Regions from separate parts of the Homo sapiens genome. Here region 2 is linked to region 1. The links are contacts of gene promoters, found by promoter capture Hi-C in human tissues and cell types (Jung and others, 2019). All regions are on one chromosome and are shown on one strand. The core of a region is centred on a gene start or on the middle of the fragment in contact, and the rest is flanking DNA. Distances in the headings are between cores, read along the strand shown.

Region 1 (5,048 bases), core at 54-2,553:
TCCCATGTCCCCACTCAGGGTTGTCACGGTCCAGCGTCCATCCAGCATGCGCCTGAACTCTTCACCATGCTGGGTCACCAGGTGCACCTGGGGGTGGAGAATGAGCTGGGAAAAGAGAGCTGAATCTGGGGCCAGGGGTAGGGAGGCGGTAAGGTGACCCGCAGGACATGGCTGGGTACTGAGCCAGGGTGGAAAGACAGGTGAGCTTAGCGATGGCCACAGCAGCTTTGGAGTTCTGGTGGGGACTGGGAGATGCCTGAAGAGCTAAGACCCTGCTTGGTGGTGGGAGAGCGGGGTAGGGACAGACCACTCACCCTGTTGACCAATACAACCACCTTGGCTCCATCCACAGTCTCTAGGTGCCGCTTGGCCACATAAGCAGCCGCCCGGGTCTTCCCGGCACCCGTGGGCAGCCAGATGATGATATTCTTGCCCTCCAGGGCAGGCATGATCACCTCCCATTGGTAGGACCGAAGCTCCATTCTGGGAATGGCAGGGGACTCAGACCCACCGACTCCTCCACCCCTCCCAACTCCTGGCCAGACCAGTCAGTACAGAGACCTCCCTTTGCCCAGGACTCCACCCCACTTGAGGGAGGTGGGGCAGGACTCCCTCAGAACCCATCAGGACCCTGCTCTGCCCAAAAGGGGGAGGCGGGAGTAACACAGGCTACACCTGCCCCCTGCCCAGCCCAGGACTCACCTGCTCTAGTAGGTAGGTCTGCCCAGGGCAGTCCCACTTAACTCAGCCTGGTGCCACTCTGCTCAGCTCAGAGACCCAAGATGGAAACTGAAACTGAGGGAAGGAGCCAGCTGAGCCGACTTAGGAATCTCCCATCCCCGCCCCAGGAAAAAGAACCAAGAGAAAAGAACCGTTTGTGCTAACAGTCATCGCCAACTGCCGTGAGTACAAACTCCGGTTAAGTACTGCTGCTGCGCCAGCGCCCTGGCAGGCATGATCACCTCCCATTGGTAGGGCCACAGCTCCATTCTGGGAATGGCAGGGGACTCAGACCCACTGGGCCCTCCACTCATCCCAACTCCTGGCCAGAGCAGTCGGTACAGAGACCTCCCTTTGCCCAGGACTCCACCCCACTTGAGGGAGGTGGGGGGGGGGACACCCTCAAAACTCATCAGAAGCCTGCTGTGGCCAAAAGGTGGGGGTGGGGGGGGGTGGGAGTAACACAGGCTACACCTGCGCCTTGCCCAGCCTGGGTCTCGCCTGCACCACCACGTAGGCCTGCCCAAGGCGGCCCTGCTTAGCTCAGCCTGGTGCCGCTGTGCTCAGCGCAGAGAGCAGAAATCAGAAATGGAAACTGAAACTGAGGGGAGGAGCCAGCTGAGCCGACTTACGAATCTCCTATCCCTGCCCCAAGAAAAAGAACCACGTGTGCTAACAGGGAAGCACTCTTTCAGTGCTACAGGATCCTCTACGCTCTGGCCCTTCTGCAGTCAGTTGTAACCACATCCACCCAGGTTAAGGTGAAGGCAGGAGGTTCTGACCCCTGCTGCCCTGGCATCTGGATCAGGAGCAGCCTGGAGGAGGGAGAGGTGGGGGGCTGCAGGCAGGTAGGACCCATCACCCCAGGAGCACAGGACCAGGCCTGAGGCTTGCTGGGGAGAGCAGCCTCCAGTTTGCAAGAGGTCCCTGGGGGCCAAGGTGAGCCTGCTAAGGCTGGGACTACACCAAAGAAACAATCACACAGAGAAATAAAAAGCTTTATTATTCCCTCTAAGGGATTAATGCCAGGGAATGAATGGTCCCCATACCCCCCACCCCTGGGGGAGACTGACAGAACAGTGCTGGACAAGGCATGGCCCCCTTCAGTTTGGGCTGAACTTCCAACCCCTGAAGCCATCACTCAAGCTAAAATGAGCAGTTCTGGTCCTCAGGGAAACAGCCACCTGGGCCAGGCCCAGGAATCCAAGCCTCCAAAGCTCTTGGGGACCAGGCCTGGGGGCCACCACGGCTGGGCAAGGTTCATCCCTGGCCACCAGCTACTCTAGAGGGGCTGGGCCCCAACCCAGGAGACCTCTCACACACAGTGAAGGCTGGGACAGAGCTGCACGCTTGGGGGTGCCTGAAGGTCCAGAAAGAGCTGCAGGATCGGGTCCGGAGGACCCTTGGCTGGAGTGTCTCAAGCTGAGTCGGGTCCGTGGGGCCAGGGCACCCCCTAAGGATCAGATCAGAATCCGAGGTGGAGACATTCCAGGTCAGGGCTGCGGCCCAAAGATGGGCCTACTTGTCAATGAGGCCTCCCTCCTTGAGCTTGAAGTAGAAGAACTTCTCCAGGGCGCTGGCACAGCGGCAGTACTCGCTGTCCGGGGGGTTGTACTCGCGACAGTTGGCGATGACCCGCTGCAGGTCGGCCACAAAGAGCTTCCGGGTCACGTAGTAGCGGCTTCGCAGCCGCTCAGTCATGGTCTTCAGGTCTGGGGCAGCAGGAGACGGAGCACAGCTTTAAGAGGCTGAAGACCACGGCAGGGCTGTCCACCAGGGTGGGCCCCCTGGGGCTGCAGGGCGCAGTGAGGGCAGGAGCAGGTGTGGGGACAGAAGAGGAGGGAAGGGGATGGAATGGAAGGTCCTCACCAATGGGGAAGCGGATGACCTCGTAGTAGTCAGGGGCCTCCGACTTCTTCACAGGCTCCATGAAGGGCCAGGCACTGGGGTGAGACTGGAGAGAAGAGCCGGGCTGGGGACAGCCCTGCTGCGCCCACGCCAGCCCGAGACCACTACCCACCCCACACTGCATCAAGAGGCCACAGCCATTGGTGCAGGGGCCCTGGAAAGGAAACCTGGTCTCCCCACCTTGATTTGGGCCAGCAGGTTTTTGAGGGTTGTGTAGAGCTGGTCGGGGTCCTTCAGCTCCTTCCTGGGGCGAGAGACACCAAGTCTGAGGCTCCAAGTCCCTCTGCCCCACCCCCAACCCGGCTCCTTTGACACTCACCCCTTCTCCTTCCCCAATGGCTTCCAGCCTGTCTCTCCTGCAAAGTGGGAAGTGGGAGAATGTCTCTAAGAATGCCAGTCCACACCCCAAGCATCGTGCCCCCACTACCCTGCAACTGAGACCCCTGCTTACGAATGCCAGGAACGCTCTCCACAGGGATCTGCCTCACGCCCTCCTTGAAGCAGCTGAGCCCCGGGTAGACCTTGCGGATCTGGGCCTGTTTGCGCTCAATCAGCTTCTTGATGATCTGAGGGAAGGAAGGGACTGAGGGGCCAACTCCAGCCCCAACAACAACCCCTCCCAGGGCCACAGTCGGAGCCACTGGCTGCACCCACCCAGCTGCAACGCCACCTAATCCAGCACCTCCCCTCATAACTTCCCCAAGGGAGCAGAGCAAGAGCCAAGATCCTGGCCTGCCCCTCCTCACTCACACACATATATGCATGTAGACGTAGAACAGGTCTACACACGTGTGCTCGCCCTCTGCATGCCCATTCATGAAAAATCCCACAGATGCGCATGTGTGCACACCACCTCTTTCTGCTTCTTGATGATGTGGGACAGCTCCGTGTAGGGGATGCGGGGATTCAGCTCACACTCCATCAGCGTCGCTCCCTCGTAGTCCTTGATGTAGCCCAGGTAGCGGCTCTTGGGCACCTTGATGTCCTTGGAGAAACCCTGGGGGGTGGATGGTCATGACCCAGTCCATCCATAAGTATTTCCCAACTTCTGTCGTCCCTCACCTGGGAGCACCAGAGGAGTAGCACGTGCCACTTGCCACCTCCTGCTCCTGAACCTCCTCCTGGGGCACTGTGAGGGTTCAAACTGTCCCTGGAAAGGTCCCAGGTCAGCTGCCCACTCCTGACTCATCCCGAAGAGTCCCCCAGTTCCTCCAGCCTGCTCTACTGGCCCCCCAGTTCCTCTAGCCTCCTCTACTGGCCCCCCAGTTCCTCCAGCCTCCTCTACTGGCCCCCCAGTTCCTCCAGCCTGCTCTTGGCCCCCAGTTCCTCCAGCTTGCTCTACTGGCCCCCCAGTTCCTCCAGCCTGCTCTACTAGCCCCCCAGTTCCTCCAGCCTGCTCTAGTGCCCCCCCCAGTTCCTCCGGCCTGCTTTACTGGCCCCCTAGTTCCTCCAGGATGCTCTACTGACCCCCAGTTCCTCCGGCCTGCTCTACTGGCCCCACAGGCCCTCATTCTCCCCTGGGGCAATGGCAGCAGAGGAAAGAAGATAGGCATGGAGACTCTCCTGGCAGGTGTCAGGTGAAGTAGGGGACGCAAAGGGACTCCTACTCCATCCACAGAGGGGCTGGACAGAATTACCCCAGCCTCCAGGCAAAGGACCGGTGTGGGACGAGGCTACGGGTCACCTGCTTTTTGAAGTAGCCGATGGCGTACTCGTCGGCGTAGGTGAGGAAGTAGAGAATGTTGTGCTTGATGTGATACTCCTTCAGGTGGTTCATCAGGTGGGTCCCATAACCCTGCGGGGGAGGGAAGCAGGACTCACCAGGAGCTGAGGATGGGCCTGGTGCTGGAGAGGTCTCAGAGACCAGAGAAGAGCGGGTAGATTGGAAAGGAGGTAGAGAGAGCGAGAGCATCCAGGCAAAGAGGAAGAAAGGCAGCTGACAGAGGAAGGGGAGCTTATGGGGAGAAAGTGAAGGGTGCGGGCTTTCTAAGCTCACTCTGGGCTAGGTGCAGTGCTTCCTGTTTTACAGACCGATTCTCAAATTAACCCCAGAGGCGAGTATTACCACCTTTATTTTACAGAAGAGAAAACCGAAACTCAGCTACGTTAGGAAATGTGTTCAAGGTCAGGCTGCCAGCCGTGGCAGGGCCGGGTCCAAACCCAACACAGGCCACTGATTCCCAGTCCCTGGGCCTCAGAGTTGGGAGAAGCGGGAGAGGGAGTCACCAGAGGTCTGAGCAGCAGGAGCAATGCCTCCCACACGTCAGGGCCAATGAGGCACCACACAGATCTGAGGTATGCGACACACAGAGCCAGAGACCCTACGAGTGGGTCTGTTGTAACAAAGGACAGAAGCCAAAACTATCAGCATAGGGCTACTGTAATAATGATTAGTTTGGCTGGGCGCGGTGGCTCATGCC
Region 2 (4,689 bases), core at 1,888-4,387, 200 kb after region 1:
ACCTAAGGCCATGAACTTGACAATATCTGCTCCAGAGAAGCCCTGAACCCTCGCCCTAGGTCCCTATGATTTAAACCCAATGGTAAGCCCAAGTCTCACCTTTCTAAATATTCTGTTTATCAGTTAAGCTTATTATGTACTGAAGAGTGTTGCTGGAGAAGTAAGAGCTCTGCATGACACATCAACTGTCTCCAGGCAGGAGGACTGGGGCGAACCCTGTTCATCTTAGAGAAGGTCGTCTCCCCCTTAATTCAGAGACCAGCTAATTTGATTTAACAAACAGAATTCCACAGAAACTCTGATCAGCTGAGGCAAGGTGGTTTTGAGTTGCCAAATCCGGCCATGCCTCTGAGTCAGAGGCAGCCCATCCAGCACGTGCTAGGTGTTCCCATACGCACAGGAGAGGCGAGCTAGCCAGCCAAGGCGGGCAGGCGGGGAGGCCCTCTAGCTGTTCTGCCTCACCTGTGGGGCCCCAGCAGGGAGGAGTCACCAGCCTCAGAGGGAGGCCAGGTATACACCCTCATACGAGGGCAGACTCAAGTTTATCAGTAAGCCTTTGCCCTGCATGAACTGAATGAAGACGCCATTACAAGTGCCACTGGATATCACCAAGAAACTGGCTAAGAACCATATTCCCTGAGCTCAACCAGACACGTCGCTGGGGCCCCATAGTGTGCATCATGTCCAACCTGTAACTCTCTCCCCCTCTTCTTCCATGAGGTCCTGAGACCAGGATTCCTAAAACAAACAGGATGAGGGACCTTTAGACACGCAAGGAGACATGCCTCTAGCAGGATCAGGGGGACTGGGGTCGGGAGGGTGGGGCAGGAAGGAAGCCAGAATCAGAAGTATCCCAGCCCTGATAAGGCACCCACAGAAACAACCTAGCCTCTGAAACAGCAGATCAAGTCCAGGGAGAAAGGGAGTCAAGGTTGTAAGCACCCTCTGCCCAGCCTTACTCACTAAAAGGCCAATACATTACAAAGGAAAATAAGTCTATTTATAAAAAAAAGTCTAAAATGCTTAGATTCTCCTTAAACCTTCCTATTTCAACACCAAAGGCCAGGTTGCAGCTTCAGATGTCTTAAGGGTTTGACCTGAAGCCCGTTTCAGGGATTATATAAATTACCAGCCTGAAGGAAGCTGAATGCTTAAAGCACCAAGGAGGCTGTTAACTGAAGTTTCTTTTTTTTTTTTTTTTTTTTGAGACAGAGTCTCAGACTGTCGCCCAGGATGGAGTGCAGTGTGCAGTGGTGCAATTTTGGCTCACTGCAACCTCCGCCTCTCAGGTTCAAGCGATTCTCCTGCCTCAGCCTCCCGAGTAGCTGGGACTACAGGCGCCCACCACCACACCCAGCTAATTTTTTGTACTTTTAGTAGAGACGGGGTTTCACCGTGTTAGCCAGGATGGTCTTGATCTCCTGACCTTATGATCCGCCTCGGCCTCCCAAAGTGCTGGGATTACAGGCGTGAGCCACCATGCCCGGCTGCTTAAGTTTCTTAAATACAGAAAGGCTATGCTGATACAGTGTTTTTTGCCCTTTAATTGTTATTATTTCTTAATTTAAAAAGAAACCTAGGGCTTAGATAGTCCTATCTTCTATTTGGATGTCAGCAAGGTTAAAAAGTGCAATGCCAGGAGTATGTAGCTATAGGTGGCCTGTGGCATTTGCTTACAGAAACAGGCAGAAGGATGCCGCAGGCACCAGGAGGCACTTGTCTAAGAACAACAACAACAATAACAAAAAGCTGCTGAGAAAGGAGGGCAGGGGAACAAAACAACACAAGACATTTCCTTTTTCTCCCTCTAGCCACCCCCCGCCACATCCCCTGATCATGGGTCTCAGAGAACACATCCTTATTTGCATTTAGATAAAAGCAGATCACCCACATTCACTCATTTCTCTATTTTTAAAAGTGCCCAGATTGCTCAAAGATAGCAGAAGTAGGAGATTAAAAAAAATCTGGAACCACAAAGTTAGTAGTTTCAGATGATCTGGGGTTTGGCTGTGTGAGGGGTGGCAGAATGCAGGTAGGCGCCTCAGTCGTATCTTTCTGCAGCTTCCGTTCTCAGCTCCTCACATGGGGGAGGTAGCGCACTCCGAGGTCAACTCCATGTCAAAGGTGAGGGACTCTGGAGGGACAGACAGGGAAAACTAGTTCAGTTGTCCACCCTCTGCAACTGGCAGGCCACGCCCCCAGCCCTTCAGAGGACAGGGCCCAGGCTACCACTGCTATCCAATCTCCTGCCCCTTAAGGCCCAGGGATGGTCAGAAAAGCCAGATTTACCCTCCTCCCTGGAGGACCCTGCCTCGGGAAGGGTCCTTTCTCATTCCCACCTTAACTGATTCCCAGAGCTCCATGTTTACAGAAGCTCTAAGGCTGTCCTGAGATCTTCTGCCCTTGATCTACTGTTTAATTCAGGAGCCCCGAGACACACGTGGCCACCAAGCATTTGAGATTTGGTTTGTCCAAACTGAGCTGTGCTGTGGCTGTCAAAAGCCCACTGGATTTTAAAGGCTTAGTATGAAAAAAAAGAATAAAAAAAGGTCTCAACTTTTTCTTTTTAGTTTAGTTTTGTTTATTTGAGATGGAGTCTCACTCTGTCGCCCAGGCTGGAGTGCAGTGGCACGATCTCTGCTCACTGCAACCTCCACCTCCCAGGCTCAAGCGATCCTCCCACCTCAGCTTCTTGAGTAGCTGGGATTACAGGTATGCGCCACCATGCCCAGCTAATTTTTATATTTTAGAGATTTTGGTCAGACTGGTCTCGAACTCCTGACCTCAAGTGATCCACCCACCTCGGCCTCCCAAAGTGCTGGGATTACAGGCATGAGCCACTCACCCAGCCTCAACTTTTTCTGAAATGTTAAATTGAGAGTATGTTGGATTTAGTGGGTTAAATAAAATATATTGTAAAAATTAAGTTCGTCTATTTCCAGTGTGGCTGCTAGAAGATTTATACTCACACATGTGGCATTCATACCATCTCTTTTGGAAAGCAAAGCTCTAGAATCTCCTACCATTCCGAGTGACCAGCTCTCGGTGTGTACATGTGAGAGCATCACACAAAGGGGACCAACTTCCCTTATAGGGACAAAGTCTGTCAACCAAATACTCACCAAACTGCCCTCCTGCTGAGGGTTCAGCACCTTCACCATTATTTCCAAACTGCATCAATGAATCTAAAGTGCGGGGGGACATCGGCAGGTCAATGGTATTGCTGCAGGTCGTTCTGTAGGAAATGGGGGGCAGCAGGAGGGGAAACGGGGGGTTGACAAGACACAATGGAAAAAAAAAAAAGAACAAAACACACACACACAAGCCATCAAACTCTGGTCTCCAACAGAAAAATAAAAGCTCAAGCTTTTTAAACACACAAGGTCACTTTGAGTACTAAACATAGCCCAGGGGCTTCCAACCTTTGGCAGATTAACTCTCACCCAGTGTCCCATTCCCAGGGATAACTGAGGATATTAGAAATGAAGGCAAAACGGGGAAAGGAAGCCACTTACGGTGTCACACAGATAAACTTGGTCTTCAGGTATGGGGCAGCGCCTGGGAAGAAGAAAACCAGTTTTCTTACTGACTGTGACTTCGCATTCAGTAAGCAGAGCTGGAGGAAGCCATCTGCCTCGGCAGGACTGATTTGAAACTCACTCATCCTCATGCCAAGATTGTCTGGAAAGCTCCATCTGCCCCTCAGGGTTGTCTGCCCTCATTTATACTATTTGATCTCCCAGGCACTAGCAGCTGTGAACTTCAGTTCTTTGCACAAAGCTGTCCTGAGCTGCAGAGACTTTTCAGCATAACCTTTTCCCACCTGACCCTAGACTAATGCCACCTTGTGTCCCTTCTTTCCCTAGATTATGTAAAAGTTTAACAGCCTCCACGTGGTCTGAGCATTCTATTCCGGCCTGGTCATATCTCTTAGATAACTTCTCTGCATGCAGGAACCGAGCCTGTGTAGTCTTTGCATGGTGTCCAGCCTAAATACCAATATCACCAAGTCTTTAAAGAACATGGAGACTGCTAATGCTTGTGGTTCCAAAGCCAAAGGTTATATCTCTTATTCCTACCAGCACTAATCTGGCCTCTACCACATTTTTGGATGAGGGCATGAGTAACTTTCTAGTTGGATAAATACGTCAATCAAAAAGCACCAAAGAGAATGTGACTTTGTAAGGCAGTACAATTGCTTCAACTAGAAGACCGGAGACCTGGGTCCAGGTACATCTTCAATAGCTAAGAGACCTGGAGCAAGGCATGGTCTCTCTCTTTTGTTGCTGTTGTTCTTATTGTTTTGAGACAGAGTCTCACTCTGTTGCCCAGGCTCAAGTGCAGTGGCACAATCTCGGTTACCGCAACCTCCTACTCCCAGGTCAAAACGATTCTCCTGCCTTAGGCTCCCAAGCAGCTGGGACTACAGGTGGCACCACCATGCCTGGCTAATTTTTGTCTTTTTTTTTTTTGAGACGGAGTCTTGCTCTCTTTCGCCCAGGTTGGAGTGCAGTAGCGCCATCTTGGCTCTCTACAACCTCTGCCTCCAGGGTTCAAGTGATTCTCCTTCATCAGCCTCCTGAGTAGCTGGATTACAGGCATCTGCCACCATGCCTAGCTAATTTTTTTTTTGTAATTTTAGTAGAGATGAGGTTTCACCATGTTGGCCAGGCTGGTCTTGAACTCCTG

What was found. The method cuts DNA at HindIII sites, captures the fragments that hold promoters and counts their contacts. A contact is called where the count stands out against the background at its distance.
Region 2: a contact is called between a fragment that was not itself captured here and the fragment with the promoter of DHX58 in region 1, in 2 of the 25 tissues and cell types used here (lymphoblastoid cells and pancreas).

The regions. Positions count from the first base shown.
Region 1 is chr17:42,111,411-42,116,458 of GRCh38, forward strand. It overlaps DHX58 (DExH-box helicase 58), which reads right to left and starts at 1,304. Exons shown (of 14, transcript NM_024119.3): 1 at 1,195-1,304; 2 at 703-795; 3 at 315-483; 4 at 1-87. The coding sequence starts at 482. KAT2A (lysine acetyltransferase 2A) reads right to left here. Exons shown (of 18, transcript NM_021078.3): 12 at 4,313-4,423; 13 at 3,482-3,625; 14 at 3,080-3,194; 15 at 2,948-2,984; 16 at 2,809-2,872; 17 at 2,590-2,674; 18 at 1,701-2,432. The coding sequence ends at 2,239. RefSeq lists enhancers at 812-911, 1,152-1,671, 4,371-4,906, 4,630-4,949. The HindIII fragment of the contact is 12,117 bases long and covers 1-4,613 here.
Region 2 is chr17:42,313,667-42,318,355 of GRCh38, forward strand. It overlaps STAT3 (signal transducer and activator of transcription 3), which reads right to left. Exons shown (of 24, transcript NM_139276.3): 22 at 3,516-3,558; 23 at 3,123-3,235; 24 at 1-2,134. The coding sequence ends at 2,079. Among named protein-coding and RNA genes, the nearest start is that of STAT5A, 28 kb to the left of the region's middle. The HindIII fragment of the contact is 8,739 bases long and covers 1-4,689 here.